Linked DNA regions of Homo sapiens: all the other regions are linked to region 1. Evidence: promoter capture Hi-C in 16 types of primary human blood cells and fetal thymus (Javierre and others, 2016). All regions are on one chromosome and are shown on one strand. The core of a region is centred on a gene start or on the middle of the fragment in contact, and the rest is flanking DNA. Distances in the headings are between cores, read along the strand shown. Region 1 holds the start of PRR18 (proline rich 18). Region 2 overlaps TBXT (T-box transcription factor T). Region 3 overlaps RPS6KA2 (ribosomal protein S6 kinase A2).

The links. The method cuts DNA at HindIII sites, captures the fragments that hold promoters and counts their contacts. A CHiCAGO score of 5 or more calls a contact.
Region 2: a contact is called between a fragment that was not itself captured here and the fragment with the promoter of PRR18 in region 1, in 2 of 17 cell types (neutrophils and M0 macrophages). The highest score is 6.8, in neutrophils.
Region 3: a contact is called between a fragment that was not itself captured here and the fragment with the promoter of PRR18 in region 1, in 1 of 17 cell types (total CD8 T cells). The highest score is 6.2, in total CD8 T cells.

The regions. Positions count from the first base shown.
Region 1 is chr6:166,306,525-166,311,031 of GRCh38, forward strand. PRR18 (proline rich 18) reads right to left here and starts at 1,868. Exons shown (of 1, transcript NM_175922.4): 1 at 1-1,868. The coding sequence starts at 1,618. The coding sequence ends at 731. LOC107986669 (a long non-coding RNA gene) reads left to right here and starts at 1,024. Exons shown (of 3, transcript XR_001744464.2): 1 at 1,024-1,199; 2 at 3,198-3,293. RefSeq lists a silencer at 1,351-1,950 and an enhancer at 2,021-2,300. The HindIII fragment of the contact is 8,012 bases long and covers 1-3,894 here.
Region 2 is chr6:166,154,135-166,158,641 of GRCh38, forward strand. TBXT (T-box transcription factor T) reads right to left here. Exons shown (of 8, transcript NM_001366285.2): 8 at 3,522-4,454. The coding sequence ends at 4,181. Among named protein-coding and RNA genes, the nearest start is that of TBXT, 11 kb to the right of the region's middle. The HindIII fragment of the contact is 6,113 bases long and covers 1-4,507 here.
Region 3 is chr6:166,440,682-166,445,188 of GRCh38, forward strand. All of the region lies in intron 14 of RPS6KA2 (ribosomal protein S6 kinase A2), which reads right to left. Among named protein-coding and RNA genes, the nearest start is that of RPS6KA2-IT1, 22 kb to the right of the region's middle. The HindIII fragment of the contact is 188 bases long and covers 2,139-2,326 here.

The DNA.
Region 1 (4,507 bases), core at 618-3,117:
TCTATTCAAATAATACACAGAAAAAATGTAATCAGCCGAGCGGTTTCCATGGAAGCGCTCATTGACCAGGGCTCACCAGCGCCTGGCGATGCCTACCCTTCCGCTTTGGAGACTGGAAATTCGGTTAACTGAGTTTCAGGGATGTCTAATACCCTCAACATTTTTCTGACTTGGGAGAAAACAAAATCACGAATGTAGGACCGGGTCCCAGCTCTGCAGGAGGCCACCGTCGCGGCCACCCACCTGGGCCATCGCCCACCGCACTGTCCAGGGTGCCCGGCGCCGGCTGAGGGTGACACCACGGGGCGTGCAGATGTAGCCCTGGGGAAGGCCCGCCTCCAGGCAGAGGGTCTCTGGGACCTAGACGAACCCTGGGGGTCGGGGCACCAAGAGGCATTTTCTCAGTTGCTTAATTCCCCACGAACTGCATGGATGCTCGGCGATGCCAAGAGGAGGCCAGAGTGGGGGCAGAGGCAGGCATCTGGGGTAGATACCACCGGTGTGAACGAGAAAGGCCCGGGCTGCCGGCTGGCGAGGGCAGGAGGGGGGCCGTGGCCGTCGGGCGAGTCTGGCTGCGCCCCACGTGGGCCAGCTTGCGCACTGGTGTCCCGAAAGTGGGCGCTGGCGGCCAGAGGAGCCTGCGGTCTCCCCCGAGGGCCCCTAGGCGGAGTGGCGCGTGCAGGAAGTGAGGTGGGATCAGGCCTGGCCTGTCCCCGCAGGCCCGCTGGGCTCACAGCGTGCTCAGGTGCCGCCGTGAGTCCAGGGCCCCCGCCCGGCCCCGCGCGGCAGCCGCGGACTCCACGCCGCGCAGCCACTCCGTGCACTTGCGTACCAGGCCCTCGTCCACCGCCTCTGGCTCCTCCTCGTACTCCACGTCGTCGTACCTGTGCCGCTCGTTGAGCAGCGACACCTTGAGCATCGGCCGCAGGGCCCCGGGCCGCGGGCTGAGCTGGGGAACCTGCAGGCCGCCGTGCAGCAGCTGGGCGCCGGGCGGAGGCGCGCGGCGGCCCTGGCCGGCGGTGGGGGGTGCGTCGGGGTCGCTGGCGGGGCCGCCCCTCCGCGGGCCCGCGGCCCTAGCCGGGAGACACGGGGCGAGTAGGCGCCTGGGTTCGGCCGAGGGTGAGGGGAAGGGCCTGCGGGGCCGCGCCAGCAGCTGCTTCTCCAGATGACGCTTCTGGATGACCAGGACGGCCTCGGGGGTGAGATTCAGGCAGAAGCGCGCAGCGGAGTCTGGACAAGGCCCCGCCCCCGAGGAGGTGCCCGCGGCGGTGGTCCCCGTCCCCGCCGAGGTCGCCGCATAGGTGGTCCTCGCTGGGCTGTGGCCGGAGCCTGCCGGCCGGGGCGGGGCGCACGTGGCTGGGGCCCGCGCGCGGCTGGGCAAGGCCTGGGGGGAGACGCCCGGAGGGGCCGGCGGCTGCGTCCTGTCCAGGCCGGGGCCGCGCCGGGCCGGCGGCCTCTTGAGCGTGGCGGAGGGCCAGGAGCTGGAGAGGAGCCCCTCGGGCCGCTGTGGGGGCCTCTTCTTCTTGTCCCCCGCGGCGCAGGGCCTCCGGGGTAACTGGCGCGCGGCTTGGGCCCCCGGGGCGGGGGCGGGCGGCGGCGGCATGGGCGGGAAGGGCATAGTGCAGCCGAGCCGCCGGATCCTCAGCCCCTGGAAAGAGAGGCGGGCGCTCAGCCACTGTGCGCGGAGCGGGTCCCCGCAGTCCGGGCGGCCCCTCCACACCCACCTGCGTCCAGCCGCGGCCTCTCCGGCTTCCTCACATCCCAGCGACCAAACCCGGGGACTCAAAGAGAGGCGCTCCCACCCTCCCCTCCTCCTGGGGGTGCTCCCGGGACTGGACCCTGCAGGAACCGCCTCCCGCCGTCCGACTGTGGGCGAGTCGCGGCGCCCCCGGGTCCCCACAGCTGAGACGCGGGCCGGGCCGGCAGGAGGAGGAGCCCAGCGCGCTCGCTAAGGACGCGGCCCTGCCAGGCCCCGGGCTGTGCCCGGCTGGTGTCACGACCGACTGTTGAATGGGAGCAAAGTGCCAGGACAGCGGAGGGCGGAGCGCGCGCCAGGCATCCCGGGGCTCCCCCAGCTGGCGCTCCGGTGGTCCGAGGTTAATGTAGTCCGTCGAAAGCCAGGAGCATTCCCCTGGGGGAGCCGGCAGCCTTCCGGAGTCACAGGTGGAGGCCCTGCACGTTTCAGAGAAAATCCCCTGTAGCCTCTCCGTGCCTTCGAGACGGCGGGAAAGGCACCGCCAGTAGATGCAGCTCTGCGGCCCCGGACACATCCTGCTTCACAGAGAAAAGCGGGCTGGAGCTGAGAGGGGAGAAATGACCCTCAGTGAATCTTACATAGTGTTCATGCCACCCCTTGAGGAGTCACTTTCAAATTCAAAACCTAAGTATCTATGAACAGGCAAAATAGTTCAGTTTCAGCTATATAATGCTGATTACATGGCAAATATTAGACATCAAGTCCCTTTAATAATTCTTATGAGCAAAGCAATATATTTATCACTGTAGCAGAGATTCAGAATTAATGAGATAAATCTTCACTGTCAATTTACATTCTAGTCGTAGACACATGAAGACATCCTACAATATTCAAATGTTTGTTTAATAAATAATTGAACAATTGCAAAGTGACGGATCAAAAAGTCAACATTTCATGTGTGCAGTCCCTGCATTACTTAAGGATAATCATCAGCTGCTTAGATCTCCACAAAGTACTTTCCATCAGATACACTTTTCTGATGGAAACCAGGTGTGTGATGGTTACGGCCCCAGGTTAGCTCCAGAGCACATTCAACTGTGGGTAAACACAAATGTGCCCTGTGCCAACAGTCACAGCAGGACAGCATGGCCCTCCCCCAGCCGCCTCAGTCTCCGAGGCAGCAGCAACGCCTCCCCTTGTTGACTGTTGGTGGCCTCAGAGAACTGCGCTGTGGATACATGGGAGCGTCAAGGAAACCTGGCAGGTGGTGGGAAACACTTCTCACCAGAGCTTGGGTTGGGGTGACAGGTTTGGGCCCTGTCATCTCTACCAGCACCTCCCAAGCCACCCCAATACAGCTCTGAAACAAGCCTCCCAGCTCACAGGCACTTTCCCTCCATCCCTGCCAGCCTGTCTCTGCCGGTGGGCTCAGGCTGTTAATCGGCTTGACAGGTGAGGTCCTAAGATACTGAAACCTCCTCCTCAATATGTTTTATTCCAGGTTTTAGAATCTCTGGATGGGTGTGGGAAGAGGCACGTCAGTGGCGGCAGGAGGCCCACAGTTCTGTGCCTGGAAAGTGGAGAACTGGAAGAGAAGGTGAGGCAGGAGAGGATGGGGGTGGGGCGGGGGGCGGTATCAAATATCATTTATGGGGGCACAGCTGGAGAGGCAGGCTATGGAGAAAAATCAGCAAACACTTGGACACTCAGACATCTGAGTTTGGAGCCCCGCAGTTCAAAAGCTGTGACGGTGCTGGTGGGGTCTTCTCTCCTTCCTGTCTCCTTACTCTTAGGATGCTTCAGAAGGAATGACAGTTTTGGGGTGAGAATGGGTTGGTGGCCTCATAGTAATGCTCCCGACTTCCACTGCTGTCTCCATTCTGCTGGGACACTGGTCGTACAGAGGCGAGGTAGCTACGCAACTGCCATCACACAGCTCTAACGGGACGGAGGAGATAAGACTCCACCCCAGGAGTGCGAGTCCAAGGCCAGATTGCAACTTTTACACTAAAGCTGAGAGGGAAAAAGTCTTGGTAGATCAGGGTGATTGGATTAAGTGACCTCTCACCCACAAACTAGTAGCGATTTGGGCCTTTTTAAGCCAAGAAAAGTGATAGTTTATCAGATTAATGCACGTGTCTGACCAGACAAGAACTGGGATTCTCCAAGCCCTCCCAGACGTCTCATACCAGCCCAGAAGCTTGGAGACATGGAAAGCTGTAAGTTTGTGTGACCCTTGAGAGGCAGAAAAGTACATTCTGAGTGTCCGCCACCTCATCACCAGGCCAGGTAGGAGGGGCAGTGCCTCTTCCCTGTCTCCCCAGAACCCTCAGAGCAAAGCATGCTCCTACGAGGGGTTCTGAGCTCTGGGTTCTCATGGCGGGTTGCTGCCCCAGGAGTACGGAGGAGTTAGCATTGCCGACGGACTATCCCCTCTTCAGACTCTGATAAAAGCACCCAAATGACAGCATCGCTTGTCCCCTGCCCAGCTACTTCTGCTACTTGAAACCTTCAGCTCCTTGTAAATTAGAAGTTAGAAAGATTGGCTTGGGCCTGAAACAGAATGCGTGAAAGCAGCCTCTGTCGCTGGCCCTCACTGGTGCTGTGGCTGTTAAAGAATCCGTTACAAATACCCTTCGGCTGATGCAAGCAGCCAGCAGCAGTTCCCAGCAAGGAAAGCCACGCCAGAGAGATGGCTGCGTTTAACTTCAGGACAGCAGGTGTAACTGAAAAGCGGTTAAAGAAATATAGTAGCTGGGTACAGTAGTTCACGCCTGTAATCCCAGCACTTTGGGAGGCCAAGGCGGGTGG
Region 2 (4,507 bases), core at 1,338-3,837, 150 kb before region 1:
TTTCAGCTTGGACTCATTATGCTGACAGCTTTCCTGGCTACCCAGCTTGCAGACAGCAGATGGTGGGACTTACTGGCCTCCATAATTGCATGAGCCAATTCTCATCATAAACCTCTCCATATGTAGAAATATAAACATAAGTACAAATATATAATATCTATCTCCTATTTGTTCTGTTTTTCCGAAGAACCCTGACTAACACAGTCGTGGATCTCTTTAACTTTCTATTAACTTCTAGTTTTAATGATTAGGCTGTTTTAAACCTGATTATAAGTAAACTGTCTTAATCTTTGTACAGATGCCATATACTGATTTGCCCATATTCCTAAGTAGGAATATAGTCTTCAAAATTCACCTTTTAAATGCACGATTCAAATTTTTTTTTCTTGGCTGGGTGAGGTGGCTCACACCTGTAACTCCAGCACTTTTGCAGGCTGAGGCAGGTGCATCGCTTGAACTCAGGAGTTCAAGACAAGCCTGGGCAATATAGTGAAACCCCGTCTCTACAAAAAAATACAAGTCAGCTGGGCGTGGTGGTGTGTGCCTGTAGTCCAAGCTACACCGGAGTCTGAGGTGGGAGGATCGCTTGAGCCTGGGAAGTGGAGGCTGCAGTGAGCCAAGACCACGCCACTGCCCTCCAGCCTAGGTGACTGGAGTAAGACCCTGTCTCAAAAAAAAAAAAAAAAAAAAAAAGTCTTTCTAGAAAGCATAATTCCTATATATCACTACTATCTCTTCTCAGAGGAAAATACATATAATAAGAGGATCAGAGGCTAGGATCAGTGGCTCACACCTATAATCCCAAGCACTTTGGAAGTCCAAGGTGGTAGGATAACTTGAGCGTAGGAGTTCGAGACCAGCCTGAGCAACATGGTGAGGCCCCATGTCTACAAAAAAATAAAAAAAAAAAATTAACCGGATATGGTGGTGTGCACCCATAGTCCCAGCTACTTGGAAAGCTGAGGTGGGAGGATTGCTTGAACCCAGGAGCTCTCGGATGCAGTGAGCTATGATCAGGCCACTGCACTCCAGCCTTGGGAACAGAGCGAGACCCGGTCACAAAAACAATACAAAAATAAAAAATAGGATCAGGTCACAGATATTAAAACAGTTGCAGGTTTAAAGATCACTCCCACCTTACATATTGGTCAATTCCACTGAAACCCCAAAGACAGGGTGCTCAGATTGTAGAATTCCATGTTCAAGAGTGAACTAAATATTTTTTGGTCAGCACTCACCTGAATGTTAGGATAATTCAGAGGAATTTCCCAACAGACATGAGAAATGTGCCTTCCAAATTGCGGCAGGTGGCCTGAGAGCTTGACATGAGTTTCTCATGTGCAGCAGCGTCTTGTTATTTGTTATAAGGGCTTCATAAACAGAGCTGGGTTTACAAGGAGTCTTATGGGCTCAGAATCTTAACTGCGATGTCTAACTCTCTAAGATTATATCTTTTTTTTTTTTCTTTTTTTTGAGACGGAGTTTTTGCTCTTGTTGCCCAGGCTGGAGTGCAATGGCGCGTTCTTGGCTCACCACAACCTCCGCCTCCCAGGTTCAAGCGATTCTCCTGCCTCAGCCTCCCAAGTAGCTGGGGTTACAGGCATGCGCCACCACACCCAGCTAAGTTTGCATTTTTAGTACAGACAGTTTTCTCCATGTTGGTCAGACTGGTCTCAAACTCCCAACCTCAGGTGATCTGCCTGCCTTGGCCTCCCAAAGTGCTAGGATTACAGGCATGAGCCACCGCGCTGGGCAATTATTTCTTTTATTTCTTATAACCACCCTGATGGTTAAGCATTTTCTTCCTCCATTTTTACAGTTCAGAAAATTGAAGTTTGGGAGTAGATAACTTTCCTAGGGTCTCACAGCAAGTCAGCCAAATGAACACCAAAATCCAGGCCTTTTATACCAAATTCCAGGCTCTTTCCAGTATACAGCTGCCACTGCCCACATTGCATAACCAGAAAGACCATGTTTGAATTATTAAAATGTTAATTCCTAGAATTTGAACTCTGGGACACCTTTAGAAACTCAAACTCTCAAGTCGTCATCTATCTTCCACATGTGAAAATGGTCTTCCCCCCAACCTCAGAGCTTAAGGTCCCAGGGGAGGGGCATGTGACTCAGTCTCCCCACAGCCCCCACAGTGGGGCCACGTTCCCCAGTTGTACGCTTCAGCTGCCCAAGCTCAGTCGACAACGTTTTCCTCTTATTCCCACACTATTAGTGTTACTGATGCCCGCAAAGGGGCCAGCACTGGAACAGACCCTGAAAATACAAAACCCAGGCAGTCAGGGTTGTGGAGATGGACAAGGGTTCAGTGAGGTGGTGGACTGTGCAGAGGGGATCACCGGACACTGGGATCACAGGGTGGCACTGCCTGCCCTTAACCCCTTCCCAAATGTCCCCCAGACCTCCTCCAGCAGAACCAGCACCTATGCAATTAGAAGCCACAGTCCAGATGTCTGGAACTAGTTCTACTTCCCAACACTACCTGGACAGTGGGTTTAATCAATGTATTCTCCCAAAATACTTCAATCAATCTCCTGATTTGGGGGTATTGCCAAATGAGTAGTCGTAAAACCAAGAAAAACTTTTAAATGATAATTTACGATAAGCATGTCCTGCTTGGAAAGCAGGCACAAATGATGCTAAAAAGCTAGCTATTTACACGTCATCTCTGGATTTATACTCAATAAAGCAAAAACAAACAAACTAAACACCACTTTGTCCTAGAACTGGTAAGTGGAGTCCAAAGAAGTCAGAGTTGGACAAGTGGTAAAGTTAGCAACGCTGACTTGGAAAAAACAACTTTTGCTACGCCTGTGGGCGATATCATACCCCTGAGCCTTAATGTCCATGTTGCTAGTATATTCATAATGCCGCTTTGACACTCCTGCATTACTAACCCAGCTCTAACCTACTGGCCACCTGTAACTTCGAATACTAAGGAATACTAAGGTGTACTTGGAATACTAAGGAATACAAGGTTTGGAATACTAAGCTGGAAGTAGGGTCAACATTAAGGATTCTGCCACTAGATGGAGAAATTGTCCCAATCCAGCGCCATTGCAGTTGTGTTTTGCTTTTGAGAAAAAGCAGCGGGAAAGATATTTATAAATGCCATTTTGTTCAAAGTGCTACGGTAACCACACTTTTCATTGACAAATGATAACTTTTTATCCATTTATTTTATGTACAGTACTTTAGCTTGAATAGGGTGGACAGCCCATATTCATCTTGATGACATCAGTATGTTCTAGGTTCTGTCTTTATCCACATCATCCATGATTCAATGTTGAGTAAATCTCTTAAAAATTACTTAACATCTTTTAAGTTGCTGTGGCAATTAGCACTAAGTCTATGCAAATTTCACTTCCAGTTTTGCAACTAATTAGATACAATATTAAAGTTCTTAATAGATTAAAATGCTTTTTGGGGATAAGGTCTTTACCACCAGCTACAATAAACAGTAAATACTCACAAAAGGAGGGGCTTCACTAATAACTGGACGAATCACATTTTGCATATTGCGTTTATTTTGCAGAAAATGCTTTCTGCTGATTGTCTTTGGCTACTTTGTCAAAAGAAAAATATGAAACAGTTATAGTTTAACAACACAAGAGATTAGCTACATATGCTTAAAATACACACATTCTAGGGGGCAGAGCAGTCAAATTTTCAATTCAACTAAAACCTGCTGTCCTCAACTATGATTTTATTCTGTCCTTAACAGCTCAACTCTAACTACTTGAAAGCAACAAGGAAGAAGATTAAGAGTGTGCTTTTTATCTCACTAAAGTAGGACTGGTGGAGTTTACAAATTCTGGTGTGCCAAAGTTGCCAATACACTGTATGAGAAATAAACCAAAAAAAGTTTCTGGACCCTGGCAAACATTTTTTCACCGTCAGTGAGGTTGGGCCAACTGCATCATCTCCACAGTTGGGTTCATCTGTAAGCCACCTGGGACAGCACCGCTACTGCAGGTGTGAGCAAGGGATGCTGGGGCTCTGGGGAAAGGTGCCGTGTGCTCCTCCACTGCTTTGAAAAGGAAGTTACTGAGGCTGCATTTCCTTCTTAACCTGAGACTGCCACTGGGTACCTAGTAGGTCAATCCAGTCACCACTGGCTGCCACGACAAAAAGTCACTGCATCTTTCGGGACCTGGGCCTTGCTGCTTCACATGGAAGGTGGCGACACAGGTGTCCATGAGGCTATGAGGCGGCCTTGGGCTGCGGCGTCGTACTGGCTGTCCACGATGTCTGTGGCCGCGGCCGCCCCTTCGTACAGTGGGGATCCCGAGGAAGAGGGCGCCGAGACCGGATGGGTGAGGGGTGTGTAGTGCGCGGGGGAGCCCCGGAAGAACTGGGCCCCCAGCCCGTTGGACACGGCTGCTGCCTGGGAGCCCGGGGTGACGGCGCCGTTGCTCACAGACCACAGGCTGGGGTACTGACTGCAACAGAAAGACACCAGTGAGCAGGGCCTGGGCAGGGGCTGCAGGCCAGC
Region 3 (4,507 bases), core at 983-3,482, 130 kb after region 1:
GCAATCGATTATGACTATATTTTGTAAATGGAAATGCCACTACTAAAAACAGAATGCTATCGATAGAATGATGTCCTTTGTTTCCAAAGTTGGTATACTAGAGCGGTGCAAAAATAATAATAAAAGTGAGATATTTCGCGGCAAAGTTATCTCGGGGCAAACGCTGCAGCCGCAAGTGCCGCCGGTGAGTATTCTTGGGGAAAACGGGCAAAGGGTTAAATCATCCAGAAAGGCAGCTTCCCAGTGTGTGTTTCGAGGAGATACAAATGCCCAACCAATTCCACTGAGGAGCTTCTTTGATTAGAGAATGCCTGTGCAGAGACACAGGCTGGACAGAGCATCTATTCTGGCAGGCGATACAGTCATTTTCCCGTCTTCGAGTCTCTCTCTTCTGGTGGAAGAGAAATTTATGCCACCGTTTTCCTCAGTCATGCAATCTGTTACCAAAGCTGCCCCGTCTCCTTCCTTGTCCATCTAAATGTTGCTTTCTTTCTTTTCTATTTTCTATTTTATTTAACTGCTCCTAGTCCCGGCCTCTGTGCCTGTGAACGCTCCTTTCTCTGTTTCCACTGTGGCTGTGAAGGCATCTACAGCCTCTGCCTGTCTCTGCACCACTGCTGTTCTTGAGATGGTTCATGTTGCTCCTTCACATAGCTCAACTCTCAACTGCTGTTTCTCTTTGCTTCAAATTTTCACATGATTTCTATGAAAAATGCATTTTGATCCCTAAAGACAGGACTGGCCTGGACCTCTCTCTTCCCAGGTTTGGCCACAGTGGTTTGACTCAGCTGCACAGCCACCTCTGTTCCCCAAGACGGGTGCAGCTAACACCCCACGTGATACTGGGAAGCCCCATGGTGAAACCATCCACTGCTTTCTCAATGGCTTAGAATTCTTTGCAGGACCTGGCACTGGATCCTCTGGAGTGAACTTGAACACAAGCTCCCCTGAGTCCTCTCCTTCTCCGGCCCCGTGCGGCTCACTGCAGCGCCCAGCGTTAGGCCATGGGCTCTTTCAAGATGTAGCTTCTGCAACAAGCCCAGGTGCTGCCCTGAGGACGAGCAGGCTGTGATCCACAGGAGCCGGGGCTAGTGCTGCCAGTGACCTCGGAGCACAGACTGAAAACAGAGGTCTACATGAACGCAGACCATCCTGAATGCTGTGGGGAAGGAAGCTGGAGCAGCTGCCGGGGGCCGGGGGCCGGGACCCTGGCTAGGGGCCTCGCAGCTGAGTGCTGGAGGAACCAGGTGCACTGTGCCTTTGGAGGTGAAGTTAGAGGAAGCGGTCCGGCTGCCGCTCAGCACTTACACAGCTGAACCATGGCCCACTTGGTGGCAGCAGGACCTTTCACTGGGGTACACCCAGACTCATAAGACCAGGAGACTCAGGTGCGATTTTACATAGAGCTCCACTTGCACCTGGCACACCTTCCCCTTACAGCCTAGGGACTTTGGCTATTTATCAAACAATGGATTTTTCTTGCAGGTCCCATGACTTGAGCTTTCCAGCTATTCTGAAGCCCAGCCTTACTGCCCAGCCCCATCTGCTCTGAATACTGCCTCATTCTTTCATGGTTTGGGTACTCTGAGATGCATAGAGCATCTGGCTGAAACAGAACACTGGGGCTCCCCGCCTTATGACGAGTGAGTCTGCTGGACAGGGGTCGAGAGTGTGCACTCGGGGTCTGACTGCTTGGACGGGAACCTGCTCTCTCACTGACCGGCTGCGACTTCTCGCATATGTGTTGAACCGTTCTGAGTTTCTGTTCCCTCATGGGGATAATGAAAATAATTACACCGTGGGATGCTGTGAGGATTAAATGACTTCACACATACAGAGCGCTTATAGCAGTGCTTGGCACGTACTGAGTATGAAGTATTTACTCTCGTCATCCTCGTAACTCTCGTCACCATATTCTATCTAACGCCTGCAGCTCCTGGTCTCAGGAACTTCAGTTCTCGGGCAGTTTCCTCTTCATATGTGTACTGACGTTGGTGTTTTGCAAAAGAGGGTCAAGGTGGCAAAATTGGCACTCGAATGATGTAATGTAGTTTTATGCCTATTATGACATCTATAATAAATAAAAACTTCAGTCATTAGTAGAGATGGCCAAGAGCTCTCTCAAGGTATGTGTATTAAGCTTATGAGAAGGGGAGATACTAGTGACACAAGCTAACATTTCTGTAGTGAATTAGCTATGATATGTGTAGACAGTTGACCCTTGAACAACATGGGGGTTAGAGGTACCGACCCCTCAAGAAGTTGAAAATGCACATATAACTTTTGACTTCGCCAAAACCTAACTAATGTCCCACTGTTGACTTAAAGCTTTACCAGTAACATAAACGGTCCATTAACACATATTTTGTATTTGTATAATTATATACTGTATTAAGAATAATTATACAATTATATACTGTATTAAGAATACAGTATATAATTCTGTAATAATACGATCTAGAGGAAAGAAAATGTTACTAAGCAAATCATAAGGAAGAGAAAATACATTTAGTGTATGGGACTGTATTTATGGATATAGTGAGTTTATGCCATCTGTTCACAAGATGGATCGTCTGTCTGAAAAGGGGGGCACTCACAGCTGCAGACCTCAACCTGGGGTACGTATCATGCAATTCAACTTTTGTTTTTTTTGGTCATGTGATGACTTTTCTCTGCCTCTTGGGAGCACTCACAGCGTCCCTAGTGGCACGGGACTTCTTAGTGGTTCTATGGTGTTATTCAAGGTTTATGGAACTGCACTAAACACGGTGAAAAATATGTGAGAACCACAAGATACCATTTTTTACTGCTATTCCCAATTCCCTGGAGAGACAGACTCCTCACATGGAGACGAGGAGTGTCACAGGACGTTTAAAGCGGATCCTTCCAACACCTGAGCTTACTACAGCAGCAATGGAAGGCTGCTGTGAAATTCTTACGGTAGTGCCATATTCGCCACAGTTAATTTGCTGCAGCTATGATTTAATGCTGAATCTATGTTTGTTTACATTTATCTCAACTGCAAATGGCGCCACGTATGGTCTATGCTTGAGCACATAAATTTTGATACATTTTAAGTTTGTATAATAAATCTGTGTATATTTTATAGTAGAAAATGATAAAATAGACTAGCATCTATGTATATTTTATGCATCCTGACATACCATTTTCTTAACTTTTTAAATATTTCTAGGCTATGTGGTTTGTCTGTGAGTTTCTTCAAATTGTAACAAATCTCTAAAAAATTTTCCAGTATATTTACTGAAAAAAATCTGCATACGTGGATCCTCACAATTCAACCCCGTGTTGTTCAAGGGCCAACTGTATATATTTACATATTCCCCCACCAATATAATGCCAGGAATCCTTCCATTTATACAAATCAGCACTATCTAGAATATGTACCTAATTATGTTAAGCAACAAAGTCCTAAGAATAAAATAAAAACAAATAATTCCCTCTCTCAATTCTTATAAAGTGAATACAGCATCTTTGATGGAATAGGAATATTATTTTTTCTTTCAAATACACCTCTCCCCTTCCTTTTAATCCTCCTGGATCACGATTACCTCCAACACTTAATAGTCACTTCTATTTTAATCTTATTTTAAATGAAGGGTGCCCTAATGTGCGGACAGCAATGCAGCCATCCGTCATGCTATTTTGAAGCCCTATACAACTTCATCGCCCACCACTAGTCTCCCTGGGTTGGTTATAAAAACAAAGGCGGACTTTAGTTTTCCATTAGATTACTTAGCTGTTTTGTCCCAATAAAATGGCTTGTAGTTATTAGAAAGTAGGGCACATCTGTTCACCTACAATGTGTCTGATAAAAGGAAGAGGAAGCGCTGAGGGAACATAATAGCTTTTCTCATTCAACCATCAGAGCACTGGCTGGGGGCACCGGCAGAATGCGCTGCATCAAGTCCAGCCTGAAACAGTGCCGTGCGCGTGAGAAGGAAGAGGGTCGGTGTCTTCCCGCCCGAGGCCGGACTGCCCCAGTGAAGGATCTTGGACGTTCTAGTGTTGTTTGCCGAAGTCGAGAGGGAGGGACAAGCCTGGGAATCCAGGTTGTCATTCAGCCCACGTGAATTGAGCCCCTGCTCTAAGCTGGGCACTGTGTTGGAGACTGCGATAGCTAGAATTGGTCTTAATTTTAGTCCTAATTTTAGGACCGATTCTAGCTGTCACTTCCCACAACCTTTGGCAGAGTACCCAGCATATAGCAGGGACTCAAGTTAAAAATGCAGCTGAAAATAAATGCAAAGTGAACAATCTTGTCGTTTGATTTACTCAGGTAAACTGGTTTCAGTAGAACCTTAAATGTAGTTTACGTTATTCAGGGTAATTATGGTGGCAAAATTAGAAACCTGCAAAAATGCAGAAATAACTTAAAGCAAAATATAATGATATTCTAAGAATGTGAGAAGTACTATGATTCCATACTCACTATGAACCTCCATACCTGACCGTCATAGAGGTGAAGAGCTGGCCCCACTCTCCTCTT